Regions from separate parts of the Homo sapiens genome. Here all the other regions are linked to region 3. The links are contacts of gene promoters, found by promoter capture Hi-C in blood cells and fetal thymus (Javierre and others, 2016). All regions are on one chromosome and are shown on one strand. Each heading gives the region's core, a stretch centred on a gene start or on the middle of the fragment in contact. The rest is flanking DNA. Distances are from core to core; before and after follow the strand shown. Region 1 overlaps ABCC5 (ATP binding cassette subfamily C member 5). Region 2 has its middle 14 kb from the start of MIR4448. Region 3 holds the start of EIF4G1 (eukaryotic translation initiation factor 4 gamma 1).

Region 1 (2,879 bases), core at 94-2,593, 320 kb before region 3:
TGCACTTATGTCGAAAAGTTGGCCATGCCTGTGTGAGTCTATTTCTAGACTCTATTTCATTGATCTATTTGTCTACCCCTACATTGATACTACTGACTTGATTACTGTAGCTACAAACTAAGTCTTAAAATTGGATAGTGTGATGCCTTCAACTTTATCCTTCCTTTTCAAAATTGTTTTAGCTATTCTAGTTCTTTTGCTTTTCCAGGTGAACCAAGTTCAAGAGTTAGAAGGGGTTTTCTTGTTGTTGTTTTTTTTTAAGACAGAGTCTCACTCTGTCGCCCAGGCTGGAGTGCAGTGGTGCGACCTAAGCTCACTGCAAGCTCCGCCTCCCGGGTTCACTCCATTCTCCTGCCTCAGCCTCCCGAGTAGCTGGGATTACAGGCACCCGCCACCACGCCCGGCTAATTTTTTGTATTTTTAGTAGAGATGGGGTTTCACCGTGTTGGCCAGGCTGGTCTCGATCTCCTGACCTCATGATCCGCCTGCCTCGGCCTCCCAAAGTGTTGGGATTACAGGTGTAAGCCACCGTGTCCGGCCAGAAGGGTTCTATAAACATCTTTGATGTTTGAGAAGCATCAGAAGAGGAAAACTTGGCAAGCAATCCATCAGTATGTTTACATGAGCATGGCATATTAGCATTAATAGGAAACCAGAATCTTCACAGCTTTCATCCATTCTTTCCACAAATAACTTACCGAGTGCCTCCGATCTGTAAGACTATTCCAGATGGTGGGAACCAAAAAAATGCCAGTTCCTATGTGTATAACACACTGATTTCATTTTCTTCATTTCTAAAATGCCTAGTGACAGTTTTCACTAAAACCTATTCATAGAAAACTAAATGGACTTAATATTTTTAAAATCCTCTGATTGCATGGTTTTTGTTCTTTTTACTATATATAACTATGTCATGTTTCACCACCTCCTAGGTAGTAAGTTACTTCCTATATTGGAAAACATCAAAATCAAAGGCTCTTTTTAAAAAGATTCAAATGAAAGCTGCCAGGCAAGTCTTCATTCCCCAGGTTTCTCGTGAGTACTGCAGTGGCACTACTGATGGCAGAGACTCAGGGCTCTCCTGCTGCCTTTGGTTTTAGAACAGGCACTCAGTGCAATTTTATCCTAACAAACCCCCATAAAAGTGGTTGAAATAGCACTAATCTCAGAATTCTCATGTAACAAAGCATGGAGTAGAAATTCTCACAGTAAGAGGATGGAAAAGTCTATATTGTTGATCAAAAAGAATCAAACCTTGCTACTCTAAGCAACGAACTTTCCAAGTCACATCCTGTCCCTGTTATTCTTTCCTAAACGTTTTCCCAAATTGTCAATCTTGTTGTCATATCTTTACACATTGCCCAAGTCAGGAAAATGAAATATCTGATGGAAATACAGGATATGATACAGGATCTTCTCCTTTGAAGGAACCACTGTCCTACTCCATATTTGCACCTACCTCCTTCAGAGACAGGTCTCTCAAAACAATAAGCAACAGATATTCAGCTGTTGGCAAGAACTTTCAAATGTTAACATGAAAAATAAATAAATAAAAAATAAAAACAAGAGAAAATAATTCTCTTACTCCAACAAAACTATTTTTTCTTATGGCCTTAAAGTATGAAGATCTCCACAGGCAGAATTTTCCCACAGCTGGAAGCCATAGTAAATACAGTGATTTCAAACATGAATTTTAGAAGATAGATACAGATTTAAGTTTCAGTTTACTCATTTTTACAATGATACATGCATCTACCACATAGGGATGAGAGGAATTAATGGGATAATTAAAAGTGCTTAGCAAAATATTGGGTATATAATAAACATTCAATACATGTTAGCTATATTATCCCAATTTACTTAGCCAATAAATCTTAGGGTCTGTCTCAACGATTTCTTCTTTCCTTTAGTTTTCCCTGACTCTTTCAAGGTCGGGGAACTTACTTCCTTCCTCCTATGTCTTCCCTGTACCTATACCACCACAGCCCAATGCTTCTGGTAAGAGCTCCTAGAGGGCAAGCTGTCTTCCTCTTGTTTATATCCCTGGCCTCTGGCATAGTAGAGAGTTTGGCACCCAGTATTCAAACGTCAATGAAAACACCTTCAAAATACCTTCTTTCCCTTACATTCTACATATCATCAATTAATGCTACATGATATACCACTGAGGCGATCTTACCCATTCCACTTCTGTTTAGATTCTCTAGCTGTTTTGCTTATTATTATTTTTGTCTGAGACAGGATTTTGCTCTGTCACCCAGGCTGGAATGCAGTGGCACAATCATAGCTCACTGCAGCTTTGACCTCCCTGGCTCAAGCAATCTCCCACCTCAGCCTCCAGAGTAGCTGGGACTACAGGCATGCACTACCACCATGTCTGGCTAATTTTTTTATTTTTTGTAGAGACGGGTTCTTACTATGTTGCCAAGGCTGGTCTTGAGCTCCTGGGCTCAAGCAATCAATCCTCCATTCTTGGCTTCGGAAAGTGCTGGGATTACAGGTATGAGTCTCCACACCCAGCTTTTGCTTATTATTAATAGTATAATATACAATTATAGTTTTATTTTTCTCCTTCTAGATTATTTAGGATAAATTCTATCCCTGGGGTTACAGGATTAAAAAAATGTAGCTCCTAGCAATTAGACTTCTACCCAGTTTGCCCCAATTAACTTTATTACAGGATATGTGCTCCAGTATTATTGCAAAAGAGAATTGCTATTAACTTTAGTACTTTCACTTCTATTTTGTGGACCTCAGGTTGTCTTGACATTAGCAAGAAATAAAGGAAGCTATAGCAATCTTCCTTGTGTACAGCCAAATCTCACGACTAGTATGCATTTATAAAGGCAAGCTTTTCACTTAAAGGTAATTAAGAAAAT
Region 2 (2,826 bases), core at 105-2,604, 410 kb before region 3:
ACGTGGTGGCACGTGCCTGTAATACCAGCTACTTGGGAGGATGAGGTGGGAGAATTGCTTGAGCCCCGGAGGTGGAGGCTGCAGTGAGCTGAGATCACACCACTGTACTCCAGGGCAGTACTCGGGGCAGAGCCAAAGCTCCTTTCCGAGGAAAGTCTCAGGGCTCCCGCCACCACCTCTATGTACAGAGGCATCACCCTGCACCAGGGCACCAAGATGAGTCGCTCTGTTTCATTTTCATTAAAATGGCAACCTCACCACCTACACATGTTGGTATGTTACCTGTTGCGGGAAGTCAGGGACCCCGAACGGAGGGACTGGCTGAAGCCATGGCAGAAGAACCTGGATTGTGAAGATTTCACGGACATTTATTAGTTCCCCAAATTAATACTTTTATAATTTCTTATGCCTGTCTTTACTGCAATCTCTAAACATAAATTGTAAAGATTTCATGGACACTTATCACTTCCCCAGTCAATACCCTTGTGATTTCCTATGCCTGTCTTTACTTTAATCTCTTAATCCTGTCAGCTGAGGAGGATGTATGTTGCCTCAGAACCTTGTGATAATTGCATTAACTGCACAAATTGTAGAGCATGTCTGTTTAAATGATATGAAATCTGGGCACCTTGAAAAAAGAACAGGATAACAGCAATTGTTCAGGGAATACGAGAGATAACCTTAAACTCTGACCACCGATGAGCCGGGTGGAACAGAGCCATATTTCTCTTCTTTCAAAAGCAAATGGGAGAAATATCACTGAATTCTTTTTCTCAGCAAGGAAGATCCCTGGGAAAGAGAATACGCGCCTGGGGGTATAGGCCTATAAACGGCCCCCCTAGGTGTGCCTGTCTCTTATGGTCGAGGCTATAGGGGTGAAATAGACCCCAGTCTCCCATAGCACTCCCAGGCTTATTAGGAAGAGGAAATTCCCGCCTAATAAATTTTTGGTCAGACCAGTTGCTCTCAAAACCCTGTCTCCTGATAAGATGTTATCAATGACCATGGTGCCCGAAACTTCATTAGCAATTTTAATTTTGCCCCAGTCCTGTGGTCCTGTGATCTTGCCCTGCCTCCACTTGCCTTGTGATATTCCATTACCTTGTAAAGTACTTGATGTCTGTGACCCACACCTATTTGCACATTCCCTCCCCTTTTGAAAATCCCTAATAAAAACTTGCTGGTTTTTGCGGCTTGTGGGGCATCACGGAACCCACCGACACGTGATGTCTCCCCCAGACGCCCAGCTTTAAAATTTCTCTCTTTTGTACTCGTCCCTTTATTTCTCAAGCTGGCCGACGCTTAGGAAAAACAGAAAAGAACCTACGTGACTATCGGGACAGATTCCCCGATAGTTACCCCAGTTAGCCTTGACTCCCAGGATACACACCTTTGTGTAATCCCCTCCCCTTGAGGATAGGATGGATTTAGTAACTCACTTCTAACAAATAGAAAATGGGCCAGACGCAGTGGCTCATGCATGGAATCCCAGCACTCTGGAAGGCCAAGGTGGGAGGATCACTTGAGCCCAGGAATTTGAGACCAACCTAGGCAACATGGTGAAACCCCATCTCTACCAAAAATTTAAAAATTAGCCCATTGTGGTGGCACAATGTGGTGCCTGTAGTTCCAGCTACTCAGGCAGCTGAGGTGGGAGGATCACCCAAGCCTGGGAGGTTGAGGCTGCAGTGAGCTATTATTGTGTCCCTTCACTCCAACCCAGGCAACAGAGGGAGACACTGTCTCAAACCAACAACAACAACAACAACAAACCCAACAAATAGAATATGGCAAAAGCGGCCGGGTGCGGTGGCTCACACCCGTAATCCCAGCACCTTGGTAGGCTGAGGCAGGCCAATCACTCGAGGTCAGGAGTTCAAGACCAGCCTGGCCAACATGGTAAACTCCATCTCTACTAAAATATACAAAAATTAGCCAGGCATGGTGGCACATGCCTGTAATCACAGCTACTCGGGAGGCTGAGGCAGGAGAATTGCTTGAGCCCAGGAGGCAGAGGCTGCACTGAGCTGAGATTGCACCACTGCACTCCAGCCTGGGGTGACAGAGCGAGATTCTGTCTCAAAAAAAAAGAATATGGCAAAAGCAATGGGATATCACATCTAAGATTAGGTTACAAAAAGACCATTGCTTCTATTTTGGGTGCCCTCTTGCTTGCTCTCTCTGATGGGGTTCAGCTGCCATGTTTTGAGCTACCCTATGCAGAGGCCCATGTGTCAAGGAACTGAAGGTCTCCAGCCAACAGTTCATGAGCAACCGGGTCCTGAAGACCTCCATGTAAGTGAGCTTGAAGTGGAGCCTCCCCTAGGGGAGTCTTCAGGTGACACTGTAGCCCCAACAACAACTTGATGGTAACCTCATGAGAGACCTTGAGTCAGAGGCATCCAGCTGAGCCACACCCATTTTCCTAACCCTCAGAAACTGTGAAATGATAAATGCTGTTGTTCTAAGCCACTAAGTTTTGGGGTAATTTGTTACACAGTAAGATAGGTAAGTAATTCAACATCTGTCATCTAGGATCTGCAAGGCTCCGTCAACAATACAGAGCACCATTGTACCGAATGACACCGTGGGCACAAAGCCCTCAGCACACAGCAAGCCTGGGCAAAGAGCAGGTGTCCTCATGTTATTGTCCAGCTCACGTCAAAAATCTGCTCGGAAAGCTATCTCAAGCTGGATCACCAGAGAGCTATCATCTTCAACTATGCTCGAGACCAACCTGGGCAACATGGTGAAACTGCATCTCTGCAAAAAAACAAAGCAACAACAACAACAAAAACAACGAAAATTAGCCAGGCATGGGGGCTC
Region 3 (3,211 bases), core at 443-2,942:
TGCTGGAATTACAGGCGTGAGCCACCGTGCCTGCCTTTATTTTTTATTTTTATTTTTATTTTTTGAGACAGAGTCTCACTGTCATCCAGGCTAGAGTGCAGTGGCGCAATCTTGGCTCACTGCAAGCTCTGCCTCCCGGGTTCAAGCAGTTTTCTGCCTCTGCCTCCTGAGTGGCTGGGACTACAGGCGCACGCCACCAGACCCGTCTAATTTTTTGTATTTTAGTAGAGATGGGGGTTTCACCATGTTGGCCAGGATGGTGACCCCGTGATCCGCCCTGACCCCGTGATCCGCCCGCCTCGGCCTTCCAAAGTGCTGGGATTACAGGCGTGAACCACCGCGCCCGGCCCATGATCCTTTTAAACGACAAATCTCATACTACTTGCCTAGTTAGAATGTTTCTAACTTTTTAAACGACAAATCTCATACTACTTGCCTAGTTAGAATGTTTCTATCCTTTTAATTTCCTTTGTTATAGGCCTTTCAAGGACCTAATCTAAATTCTTTTCAAAGCCTGCATAATTCGTGTTGTATCACGATTTACTTAGGCAGGACTGAGTCTTTAATTTCTTTTTTTCTTTCTTTTTTTTTTTTTTTGAGATGGAGTCTCACCCTGTCGCCAGGCTAGAGTGCAGTGGCGTAATTTCGGCTCACTGCAACCTCCGCCTCCCGGGTTCAAGCAATTCTCTGCCTCTGCCTACCGAGTAGCTAGGACTACAGGCGTGCGCCACCAGGCCCAGCTAATTTTTTGTATTTTAGTAGAGACGGGGTTTCACCATGTTGGCCAGGATGGTCTAGATCTCCTGACCCCGTGATCCGCCCGCCTCGGCCTCCCAAAGTGCTGGGATTACAGGCGTGAGCCACTGCGCCCGGCCCATGATCTTTTTAAACTACAAATCTCATACTACTTGCCTAATTAGAATGTTTCTATCCTTTTAATTTCCTTTGTTATTGGCCTTTCAATGACCTAATCTAAATTATTTTCAAAGCCTGCATAATTCGTATTGTATCACGATTTACTTAGGCAGGACGGAGTCTTTAATTTCTTTCTTTTTTTTTTTTGAGATGGAGTCTCGCCCTGTCGCCAGGCTAGGCTAGAGTGCAGTGGCACAATCTCCGCTCACTGCAACCTCTGCCTCCCGGGCTCAAACAATTCTCCTGCCTCAGCCTCCCAAGTAGCTGGGACTACGGGTGCGCCACCACGCCCGGCTAATTTTTGTATTTTTAGTAAAGACGGGGTTTCACCATGTTGGCCAGGATGGTCTCGATCTCTTGACCTCGTGATCCGCCCACCTCGGCCTCCCAAAGTACTGGGATTAAGGTGTGAGCCACCGCGCCCCGCTTATTTTTTTTTTTTTTTTGCCGAGACTTTGATTTCAGTTTCTCAGCCCTCAACCAGCACTTCGCCTTGTACTTAGCATGCACTCAATAAATGGTTGCTTAAAATATGAATGAACTAAAGAATCGCGGAACAGAGAGAAACACAGAGGGGAATCGGTCTGGGAGTTTCAAAGTTCGGGAGGGGACACGGGGGCGGGCTGTGGCTGTCACGTGACGGGGCGGGGGCAAATCCCATGTGCTCGGCGGCGCAGATCGCCCGGCGCGGCTCCGCCCCCTGCGCCGGTCACGTGGGGGCGCCGGCTGCGCCTGCGGAGAAGCGGTGGCCGCCGAGCGGGATCTGTGCGGGGAGCCGGAAATGGTTGTGGACTACGTCTGTGCGGCTGCGTGGGGCTCGGCCGCGCGGACTGAAGGAGACTGAAGGTAAAGCCGCCATGTCCGGGCCCGACCCGGCCCCCCCACCCCCTCCCCCCGCATCCGCCGCCATCCGGGCCGGGACCGGCCACCCTGCGCCGCCGCCCCGGCGCCCTGGCCCCGCGGCCCGACCCAGGGCCCCGGCCCGCCAGGGTCCCGATCCCCGGCCCACGTGTGCCTGGCCCGGCCGGGCCTGGCTGCTGGGTGGGGGTGGGGAGCGCAGGGCCGGACTATGCGGGCCCCGCGGGCTGGTAGGGCGCCGGGTTCGTCGCCGCGAAATGCCACCTCGGCCTGACCCGAGGAGGCCCGGCAGCCCACGGGCGCAGGCACCACGGCTCCCGGCCCGCCGCCCCCTCCCCCCTTCGCGGCCAGGCCGCCGGGAAGTGACACGTTGTTCTTTGGCACTGGCCCGCGCTGCGCAGGGAGGGCGCAGGGGAGGGAGGCGGTGGCGGCGGGCAGGGAGGAGCCCCCGGCCCCGCCCGCCCTCCGGGCCGACCCTCACTTGCCTGAAACCGGCTCCTCGACGGCCGCCGCCCGCCTGGCCTTTTAGGGCCTGACTCCCGCCCTTCCTGGCCTACACTCCTGGGCGGCGGCAGGCCTAGCTTCTGGCCCAGTGCGGGTTCCCCGGCGGCAGGCGTATCCTGTGTGCCCCTGGGCCAGGCCCGAACCCGGTGTCCCCGGGTGGGGGGTGGGGACGCCACGGCCGAAGCAGCTAGCTCCGTTCGTGATCCGGGAGCCTGGTGCCAGCGAGACCTGGAATTTCCGGTCTGGTTGGTCTGGGGCCCCGCGGAGCCAGGTTGATACCCTCACCTCCCAACCCCAGGCCCTCGGATGCCCAGAACCTGTAGGCCGCACCGTGGACTTGTTCTTAATCGAGGGGGTGAGTGAGGGGTCTGTTTCAGTAGGTCAGGGGTTGGTTGGAAGTGATGCGGGTTTGACAGCATGTTGGTGGGGACAGGCTGTATCTTTTCTGCTTCACCCTCTTGGCATCTCTGGGACTCCGTATGGGACCCAGCCCTTGCATCAACCCTTTCACCGCCCCATTTGCCTTAAGCTTGGGTCCCTTCCTCTTCCTGAGCGCCACTCTTTCCCAACAGGTGCTGGGGGGACCCTGATGTGGCACCAAATGAAATGAACAAAGCTCCACAGTCCACAGGCCCCCCACCCGCCCCATCCCCCGGACTCCCACAGGTAATTAGGGAGGAATTAGCAGGGGTGGGGGTGGGGGAGACCAGGCAGTCTCCAGCCTCTGGATCTTCCTACCCCCATCTGTGTCAGGGCAAAGTGCAGCCGCCTGCTGCCAAATTGAGACAGGGCCCCTGGGCTGTCCCCGGGGGCTGTCACGGGGAGGGGGTATGTGGATTGTTAAGGCTCTTGCCGCAGATCTGCTCCCCTTATTTCACCAGCTTGGGTTTCTGCCCCACCTGGGCTTCCCCTCTTGCTGAACTCTGGTCTCCCC

The links. Contacts are between HindIII fragments. The CHiCAGO score rates a contact against its expected background, and 5 or more counts as called.
Region 1: a fragment that was not itself captured here is called in contact with the fragment with the promoter of EIF4G1 in region 3 in 1 of 17 cell types (M2 macrophages); the score reaches 6.3 in M2 macrophages.
Region 2: a fragment that was not itself captured here is called in contact with the fragment with the promoter of EIF4G1 in region 3 in 9 of 17 cell types (M2 macrophages, M0 macrophages, M1 macrophages and 6 more); the score reaches 10.2 in M2 macrophages.

The regions. Positions count from the first base shown.
Region 1 is chr3:183,995,567-183,998,445 of GRCh38, forward strand. All of the region lies in intron 2 of ABCC5 (ATP binding cassette subfamily C member 5), which reads right to left. Among named protein-coding and RNA genes, the nearest start is that of ABCC5-AS1, 9.3 kb to the right of the region's middle. The HindIII fragment of the contact is 3,012 bases long and covers 1-2,849 here.
Region 2 is chr3:183,899,133-183,901,958 of GRCh38, forward strand. It overlaps the pseudogene CYP2AB1P. Among named protein-coding and RNA genes, the nearest start is that of MIR4448, 14 kb to the left of the region's middle. The HindIII fragment of the contact is 4,315 bases long and covers 1-2,826 here.
Region 3 is chr3:184,312,914-184,316,124 of GRCh38, forward strand. EIF4G1 (eukaryotic translation initiation factor 4 gamma 1) reads left to right here and starts at 1,693. Exons shown (of 33, transcript NM_198241.3): 1 at 1,693-1,761; 2 at 2,576-2,632; 3 at 2,850-2,943. The coding sequence starts at 2,884. RefSeq lists enhancers at 1,116-1,616, 2,341-2,962 and silencers at 1,444-1,773, 1,794-2,503. The HindIII fragment of the contact is 4,143 bases long and covers 1-2,804 here.